Regions from separate parts of the Homo sapiens genome. Here region 1 is linked to region 2. The links are contacts of gene promoters, found by promoter capture Hi-C in human tissues and cell types (Jung and others, 2019). All regions are on one chromosome and are shown on one strand. The core of a region is centred on a gene start or on the middle of the fragment in contact, and the rest is flanking DNA. Distances in the headings are between cores, read along the strand shown. Region 1 has its middle 1.1 Mb from the start of LINC01031. Region 2 holds the start of CDC73 (cell division cycle 73).

What was found. The method cuts DNA at HindIII sites, captures the fragments that hold promoters and counts their contacts. A contact is called where the count stands out against the background at its distance.
Region 1: a fragment that was not itself captured here is called in contact with the fragment with the promoter of CDC73 in region 2 in 1 of the 25 tissues and cell types used here (dorsolateral prefrontal cortex).

Annotation. Positions count from the first base shown.
Region 1 is chr1:194,385,866-194,390,351 of GRCh38, forward strand. No RefSeq gene overlaps it. Among named protein-coding and RNA genes, the nearest start is that of LINC01031, 1.1 Mb to the left of the region's middle. RefSeq lists a silencer at 1,241-1,441. The HindIII fragment of the contact is 4,998 bases long and covers 1-4,366 here.
Region 2 is chr1:193,119,246-193,123,382 of GRCh38, forward strand. It overlaps CDC73 (cell division cycle 73), which reads left to right and starts at 2,786. Exons shown (of 17, transcript NM_024529.5): 1 at 2,786-3,086. The coding sequence starts at 2,956. RefSeq lists enhancers at 2,283-2,929, 2,834-2,903, 2,930-3,574, 3,174-3,223 and a silencer at 2,594-2,673. The HindIII fragment of the contact is 7,057 bases long and covers 1-4,137 here.

The sequences.
Region 1 (4,486 bases), core at 618-3,117, 1.3 Mb after region 2:
AACAATTTTATATGCAAAAAAAAATTAGAGTGTATTGCTAACATTGCACTTTTTGTTTTTGTTTAGTTCTATACATTTCTTTCATAAGCCAACTGTTTATTTCCATTGCCAATTTTTATAATCTATTCGTAATAAAGCTTGTATTATATATTTCTGGGTTTTCTTTATATTTTAATTATGTTTACTTTGATGTCACAATTGGTAAAATATTTTATATTTATTTAGTTTCTTCAAATACTGCTGTATTTGAATACAGGTGTATTTCCAACACCATTTTTTAAATTTTAGAAACATATTGTTAGGAACACATTCTTCGTTTTATCTATATACTTAGGAATTATAGAGTCTTTTAGATATTGTAGAGTGTATCGCAAAGCAAATTATCCTGATTCATTTCTCTGACAGTTCAGTGTTAATATCATCATTTTACCTGGTGAAAATCCATCATACATTGTGAAATATTTTCTGGCAAATACCTCTGTCAACTAAGCAGTAATAAAATAATAAAACCACTGGGTATGATTTTCATTAGATTTCTCTTGCCAATGAGCATGAAAGTATGAAGTGGTTTGTGAAACTATACTCACTGATCTTGGGGAATAATTACTAAGTAGAGAAAAGAATTAGTAACTATCTTTCATTGAAATTCTCTTCTCTTTCTGGCCCTTTACTGGGCTTTCTATATGCATTAACTAATTCTCAAAACAATCTGACATTATTGTTTTTATTATTCTCATTTCAAAAGATAAAATTGGTTCTGTGTTTAAGAGACTTACATAATCACAAAAGCTAATTGCGAAGATGAAACCAAAATCCACACCATTAAACCTTTGAACATATGCTTGTTCACGGTAAGCCAGTTATGCTGCATAGCAGTCCTCCAATGTCATAGGCATATTTGGGAGAGAGTGAGGGTGCCACAGGGACCACAGCTGGCTTAGACCTCTGGATCTCAGTAGAATTTGGGGTCAGTGGGACCATCTCTCCTCAGGTCTTTGTTCTCATTCAAAAGTGGGAGTTAGCTGGTTATCTAACCCTTGGCTAACTACACTTTCTAATCTGGCTTATGGGGCATAGTGTGAAATTTAAAAAGTATACAAGAGGGAAGTTGTACTGTGATACACTCTTTAAGTAGATTATTGCAACTTCTTTCATTTGCTAACCAGCTAACTTAGAGAGATGTTTGTTATTCAGCAGTAAACCAAGACTTGATAAAAACCAGCAAGAAAACCTCAAACCTTTACCTGTCCCATCCATACCAATGTCAGATATTACTGTCTTCGATCATATTTTGTTATCAAATGGTAGTAGAAATACAAAGCTATGCCCGATCACCTGGCTTGGATCTACTTACTATATGGCCTAGACTGTGTCAGATAAATCTGTTATATGCTTGTTTCTTGTGTAAAACAATGGATAGCAAGTTCTAACCCACAAACATAATAATCAGGTAAATGTTCTTTTTGTTCCAAATTATCCATAACCCCTCTTCCTTCTCTGTCAGTGAAGTTTGCATTACCTTTCAGGCTGGCATCTTCCTCTTGCTGTAATGCTCAATGGTTTTATTCTCCCACAGACTATCTGGTGTTTCATTCTAACTGCCTAGATCTGCCTATTAGCTCTACCAAGGAAATGAGGCTGAGGTCTTTGATCCTTTAATAAACTATGTCTTGTCACTTTATACACTTAGGTCTGTGTATTATTTTCCAAGTGTTCAAGTTCAATTAAATTTTTTCAGTTGCAGGTTACAAAAAAACCTAAATCAAGTATCCTTCAACCACAGATATGATTGGTAGAAGTTAAATAATGCTGAAAAACTAGTACTGGTGTTATTTATGCACACAGTTTGAAAAGATAGGCATGACATCATCTGATCTCAGGCTTTATTCCTGGTTTTCTGGTTTTCTTGGGTTTCTCCTCCTTCCTCCTCCAGCTAGTTCCCTTTATATCCAAGTTAGAGAAAGGATCTTGGTGAAGTAAACTTTTGAGATTCAATCTGATTGGATCAATTTAGGTCACTCTTGAAGCACTGTGGCCAAGAAGAAGGAATATGCAAGGTCACTAGTTTCACTTGGTAAGCCCAGGCTTTGTGTCAGATTTTCAATAGCACATGGATTCTCCACATAATTTCTGCATAATTTTCATTATATTTCTTTCAATGTATTTTAAGAATTACGTTACTTTTCTGAATGGGCCATTTTTTCATTGCCTATTATAACTGGTATTGCTGACACAAAAAAATCTACTAAACTTTATGTATTTTTGCCTAGTTATTTCATTGATATTTTTATAATATACTGTTTTCTTTAGGAATTATAATCAGCTGCTATTAAGAGGACTGAGAAACAACGGTGAATTAAAGGAGATAAAAGTTGCTTTCGTTTTCATGCCAACAAGTCTGTAATTTGAAGTTCAGGATTTATATCAATAATTAAGCTTCTATTTTTTTCCTCCACAATACTTATCATGTGGCTTCCAGACTCATGTTTCTGTCTGCATGGCCCAAATTGAGTTGCTGAATATCCATTTATCATACCTTTATTCCAGGGATTCAGTATGACAGTAAATGTAAGCACCCCGGCTACCTAGAACACTCTTCCCCTCTCTTTTATGGAGTCATCCACAAAGTATTCAAAGGTTCAACTTGTACCTTATGTGTGAAATAATAGTTACATAACCAAACTTACCTGCAATGATTACTGGGAAATATCCTCCAAAGGGGATAACATGAGTAAGAAAAAAGTAAAGGGTAGTAGGGTAGAAAACAAACTGTCTCTTCCACAAATTCAGATATTCAGATATTTTGTCAAATTATTATTTAATCTTAATACATTGACTTTTTTGCTATTTTTAATGTTCTTAACTGATATTTTTAATACTTAAAGGTTATAAAATGGTAATAATAGCAATGATAAAAGTAATGATAATAATTTAGTGATTTTTTTAGTATATACATTTTGCTAGGCCTATGATAAGCAATATTAAAATGTTTTAAATTGACAGAGAGTTCTAAGGAACCAACTAGAGAACAACAGCTTTCCCTTTATATTTGACGTCATGTAATTTGAAGCCTAAATATTTCCAACTGTATATTTTTTTAATTTTAATGTCCATTTTACAATTTTTAAAAGTTTCAATTTTACCTTGCTTTCTAGTTTGTCTGAAATTAACATTGTTATGCCAGTTTTCATTACTAATTTCCATCATAATTTTGTTTGAACTTTTCTAATCAGTATTATATAGTCTTTTTATTTGGGAGTTATTGTCTCCTATTACCTAAATTTTAAATGGAAACAGTTTGTCCATTCAGCAAATATTTAATGAAGGCTTAATATATTAGCCCGGGTACTATTCTTGATATTTCCCATGAAAAATAACTTTGTATTCAATCTGACATTACTTCTATTCGAAGTGATGAGTTTAAAATATGTATATATATATATATATATATATATATGTATATGTATATATATATATGTATATGTGTATATATGTGTATATATATAACTGATTGATTTTTTTTCTATTATCTTGCTTTATGACTTTAGTTTTATCTCAATTCCTCATCTTATGGAGGTGCATTTTTTATTTTTTACTTATTTAAAAGTAATGCTTCCTATTTGTATTGTATTAGCAAGTATTATTACATACATAAAAACATTAAAACTGCATTTCCTAGCTAAGTCAAGAATAAAAGCATATGATTTTTCTCACCCAGTAACATCATTCCTTCTTTTTTTTTTTAATGTGAAAAACAAGGGGCCAGGTAATTATAAAGGAGATTATAGTGCTATTTAAGTTGTGGGCACACGCATTACATTTATAAAGGGAGCTTCTCTCATCTAGAGAATGCTCTTCCCAGAGTGAAATATGAGGCACACAGGATAACTGAATAAACATTAAATAATGAAAGTGGGTGCCTATAGAGGCAGGAGACACATATTTAACTAACTACTGAGAGACACAAGAACTCCTCCAGATGCCATCTCCCAATATTTCAAACTGGGTAATGCATATTTTTTATTTAGCTGACCATTATCCAAATTCCCAACTTGAGAGACTCCAAAGATACATGGGAAGCAGGATGCCATCTCGCACTAAAAATAAGTAAAGTAGCCAGAAATTCCTGCTCCTTGAACTTATCTACCAGATGACAAATGTCTGTCTAGTAGGGTAACAGCATACCGAGAGGCTTTACCACTTTCTGGATGTGTGATCTTGGCATAGTTACTTTTATCTTCCGCCTCATCTTCCTCAAATATACAGTGGGGATAAAATGGACATAATAACACTCTCTAGCTTCTTGGGTTATTATGAGTTTTAATTAAAATATGTAAAGAACTTAGAACAGCCAGTAGCACATGGTGAGCAGTGTATTTGGTAAATAGATAAAAATATACCTGCTACAGGACTTTGAATTTTAATGTAGTGATTCAATGTTACAGAACCCTTTAGATAGCTTTAATTGGCACCTTCAGAGTCAAGA
Region 2 (4,137 bases), core at 1,536-4,035:
CTGAATAAACCTATATATATCAAAGACATCAAGTAAATAATTAACCCATAATTAAGTACCCAACCCATAATAATTCCCTGGAATAAACTATGACTATGTCTGGGTTGTTGTTTGCTTACTCTCTGGATGGACTGAGGCTTTTCCTTGCTAGGGAGCTATAACTCCACACACTGATTTCCCCCAAACTTTAGGAAAAGTAAAGAGAACTAACAGAGTCCTAAAACTAAAATTATCAACAGTTTCGAAAAACAAATTTCATGGCCCTTCAAATTGCCATTAGTCATGATTGATTGATGACAATAAATCAACCCCTTCTGGGACCCACAGATTATCTCTTCTTGAATTAACAGCCTCCCCCTACCCATGTATTTGAAAATTTTACTTCCAATCCTACGTTCTACCATTACAGAGTAATATAAATAAATGCTTCATGAGACTTATGCTACCTGCCGAATTATCCCTAGTAGGTTCAAGTGCATTTCCAAAATACTTACCTAAGCAGACTTTGATTGATCTAAAACCTGGCAATTTGGTCCTTTGGAAAAGGAACCAGAATAAAACTGTCCTTGGGCACTGGTGGAAAGAACCTTATTGGGTACTGTTAGCAATTGAGGTAGTGGTTTAAACTCCAAGGTAATGATGTTGGATCCATCGTTTCCAACTAAAAAGACATACCACTTTCTTCTGATTGCTGGGCATTTACTCTAACAGAAGACATAAAACTAAAGATTTTTTAGGAATTCTTCAGGAGCTAATATCTGGAGATGTGGACTGCTTTTGCCCAAGACAAAGAAACCAGACTATTTTTCTGTTTTTTTCTAATTAATTTTCTAATTTTTCAGCTCTACCACTAATCTTGCCTTTTATTGTATTTTGACATCCTCCAATGAACCAGTATTGGTAGGGCAATTATAAGGGTACTTAGATAAAAACAAAAATGATCTACAATTGCTTCTGTAGACACAGGGTCTAGGTATGTTGCCCAGGCTGGTCAGGAAAAAAATGATCTACAAATTTCAATGCTTTAACTGTTAAAAGCAACAACTTACTAATGACTTATCTTACCACTTTTTAAAATTCATTAACCTAAAAAACATAATTTCTCTGAAAAGAGAGACTTTAATCATTATTTGAGTATGAAATAAAATTAAGTATCGTTTGAAGGGACTATAGTCGAGCCTCCTAATCATGAAATCTTGGCTTCCTTGAGCTTATCTTTCCATTCATTACTTCAACATTTATTAGAAGCCTCTATCCATGTATTAACTCGATATTTACTAGGAGCTTCCATCAATTTATTGAATTCATCCATTTATTACTAATATGTACCAAATAATGTTAGACAGTAGGATATGAGGACACAGATCTATGGTGTTTCAGTTTTGTGGATGCAGGCAAATAAACTATAAAGGGAAGTAATATGGTACTGAGTGCTCTGACACAGGTATGAATAGAGAATGTGGGGATAGGTAATTGTAGCCATTTCTTTATAATGTGTGTGCTTGGGGTGAGATTCAGGAGAATACTACGGGGTGAAAACATTGGTGGAACAGAAAAAAATTTCACAAACTAACAGTTGCAGAATGGCTACAGATCATATCGGAAATGAACCACACACTTCTGTATCTGTAGTCCTCTGCGTTGTGAAAAGATTGACTTTTTTCAAAACAGGTCAAGGAATTTGGTTATGTCAAACACAAAGTTGCCTCTTTTTTCCTTCTGACATGGTAAAAGAAAAAAAACAATCCCATAGGATGTGTTTGGTTGGCCATAGTATATTGAACTTATCTTAACCGTCTCAAAACGCATGTCAAGGACACCACTGAGACTTCTGAGTACCATTTAAAAAATTGGGTAGTCTGGAAGTGTTCTAAATTGGACCGTTTGGGGTTTCTGTTAGGGCAACTTTCCCATTTACATCTTGGAACACAGCCTTTTGAATATAGCCCTTCGGGATTGGCGGGGAGAAGGGACCGCGATGGAAAAAGTCATCATCCAAAGAATGAAGAGGGAGGATCCAACATTTAGGATATTTTATTGACTTGCTAGGCGCGTTTACCTTATCTTCGTATTAACCCCATTTTCTTCATTAACCAATTGATGCTGTGAGAAGCTATGTAACTTGACGAGCAGTGCCCAGAACTGTTTTTTTTTTTTTCTGGACTCGGTCTTTTCCACTCAAAACCAACAAAAAACCAAAACTCGTTCTTTTCCACATCAAAAGCAAACAAAAAACCCCAACCCCAACCCCAAGAGCCCCACTCTTTCAAAAGGGCTTCTCCGGATCACTAAGTCCTAGAGGTCTTTGGCTAGGCCTGGGTCCGATCTAAATAGGAAGGTAATTCTAGTGTTCCGCAAATCCTTGCCGAATTCCATCCCGGCCAAAGCAGGGACCCGGGGGAGCCTCTGGTCGCACCCGAGACAGTTCGTTAAATACTCAGTGCACGTGCTGGGGATGGAAGTGCTGACCCACTGCTCAGGTACGCGCGCACCTGACGCCGCTTGGTGCGCGCCGCGGGGTACTGGGTACGTGCTCCGCGCGCGCGCGCCCGGCAAAGTTCCCCGTACGTGCGCCGTACGTGGGCGCGGTGCCCCAGCGCTCAGCGTTTCAGCGAGTGAGTGGGCTCCGTGCCCAGCTGAAGTCTGGGAGGGGCACTTTTCCAGGCGGTCGCGGCTCCCCCTGGCGGCGGATGTGCCTCGCTGGAGGGGCGCAGTCAGGCGTTCTCCGCGGGCAGCCGGCGGCGGGGCCTTGCCTTACAGCGCGGGGTCCTCGGCGGCCTGGGTGGCTACTGCCCCTGCTGCTGTCGTAGGCGAGGACGGCTGTTAGTGCTGCTGCTGTTGGTTCGTCGCGGCGGCGAAGGAGGAGGAGGAAGAGGGCGAGGCGACAAGAGAAGAAGGAGGCAGGCGCGGCGGCAGCGGCGGCGCCCCGAGCCGGCGGAGGCGAGGGGGGGGAAGATGGCGGACGTGCTTAGCGTCCTGCGACAGTACAACATCCAGAAGAAGGAGATTGTGGTGAAGGGAGACGAAGTGATCTTCGGGGAGTTCTCCTGGCCCAAGAATGTGAAGACCAACTATGTTGTTTGGGGGTAAGTCCGGCATGGCTGTGGCCCAGGGGTGGCAGGGCAGAGTTGGGCGCCCCCAGGCGACCTCTTTCTTAACCCCTCCCCCCGTTTCCCCTGGGGATGGGATAAAACGGGTGTTCGGGGAAAAGAAAGTTTCTCTCTAGAGCAGAAGTTGCACTTTTAGGGTAAGGAAAGAAGGGGCGGAGCTCTAGAGCAGTTCATCACTTAAAATTTTTGAGAAGCCCAAAGGAAAGGTACCGTGGGAGTTTCTGACTTTTACAGTTAATTTTTATCAGTAGGTATGTGTACCAGCGAAGTGTGGGACTGGTGCGCAAGGGATACCTGAACATAGGTGCACAAAGGAGCACACCGTCTGGTGCCGTAGACGCCTCTTTTTGTTCTTTATTTTTTTTTTCTCTTTTCCAGGCTGCTATGTAACTATCTCCGCTGGTCTTTGCAACTCCTGGTTTATTTCATCTCCTTTCATTGTTGGGGTGGGGGTGATTCCTGTAGAAGAGAAAAGGGAATCAACCCTGAAGTTAGGACCGGAAAGAAATTTGGTGAATTTGGAAGAGTCATAAAAGTCTGTGTTAGAGAGGTCTTCAGGAGTTGGTGAAATGAGTGAGCTTTACAGATCTAAGAAATAGATGGTGCGTGTGATTTTTCGGAAGTGTATTTTAAAGGGAAATGTTTGGGAATGTTGGTCCATGTGAAGTTTTATCAGTTTAAGTCATTCAGGAAAACTTCTAGAGACGGCTCTAACAGTCATTAGGGGCCTTTTTAATGATGTCACTGTCATTGGTGCATCGCTTCTAGAATTAGAACCTTGAGCTACAACTTCCCTACTCATTTTGTTTCTTTGAATGGAAGCTTTATGAAGAGTCGATGAAAAACTAGGGAAATTTAGTTTGTTGGTTGGTATTTATTTATTTATTTTTGAGAGGGAGTCTTGCTCTGTCGCCCAGGCTGGAGTGCAGTGGCGCGATCTTGGCTCACTGCAATCTTTGCCTCCTGGGTTCAAGTGATTCTCTTGCCTCAGCCTCCTGAGTAGCTGAGGTTGCAGGCCCCCGCCACC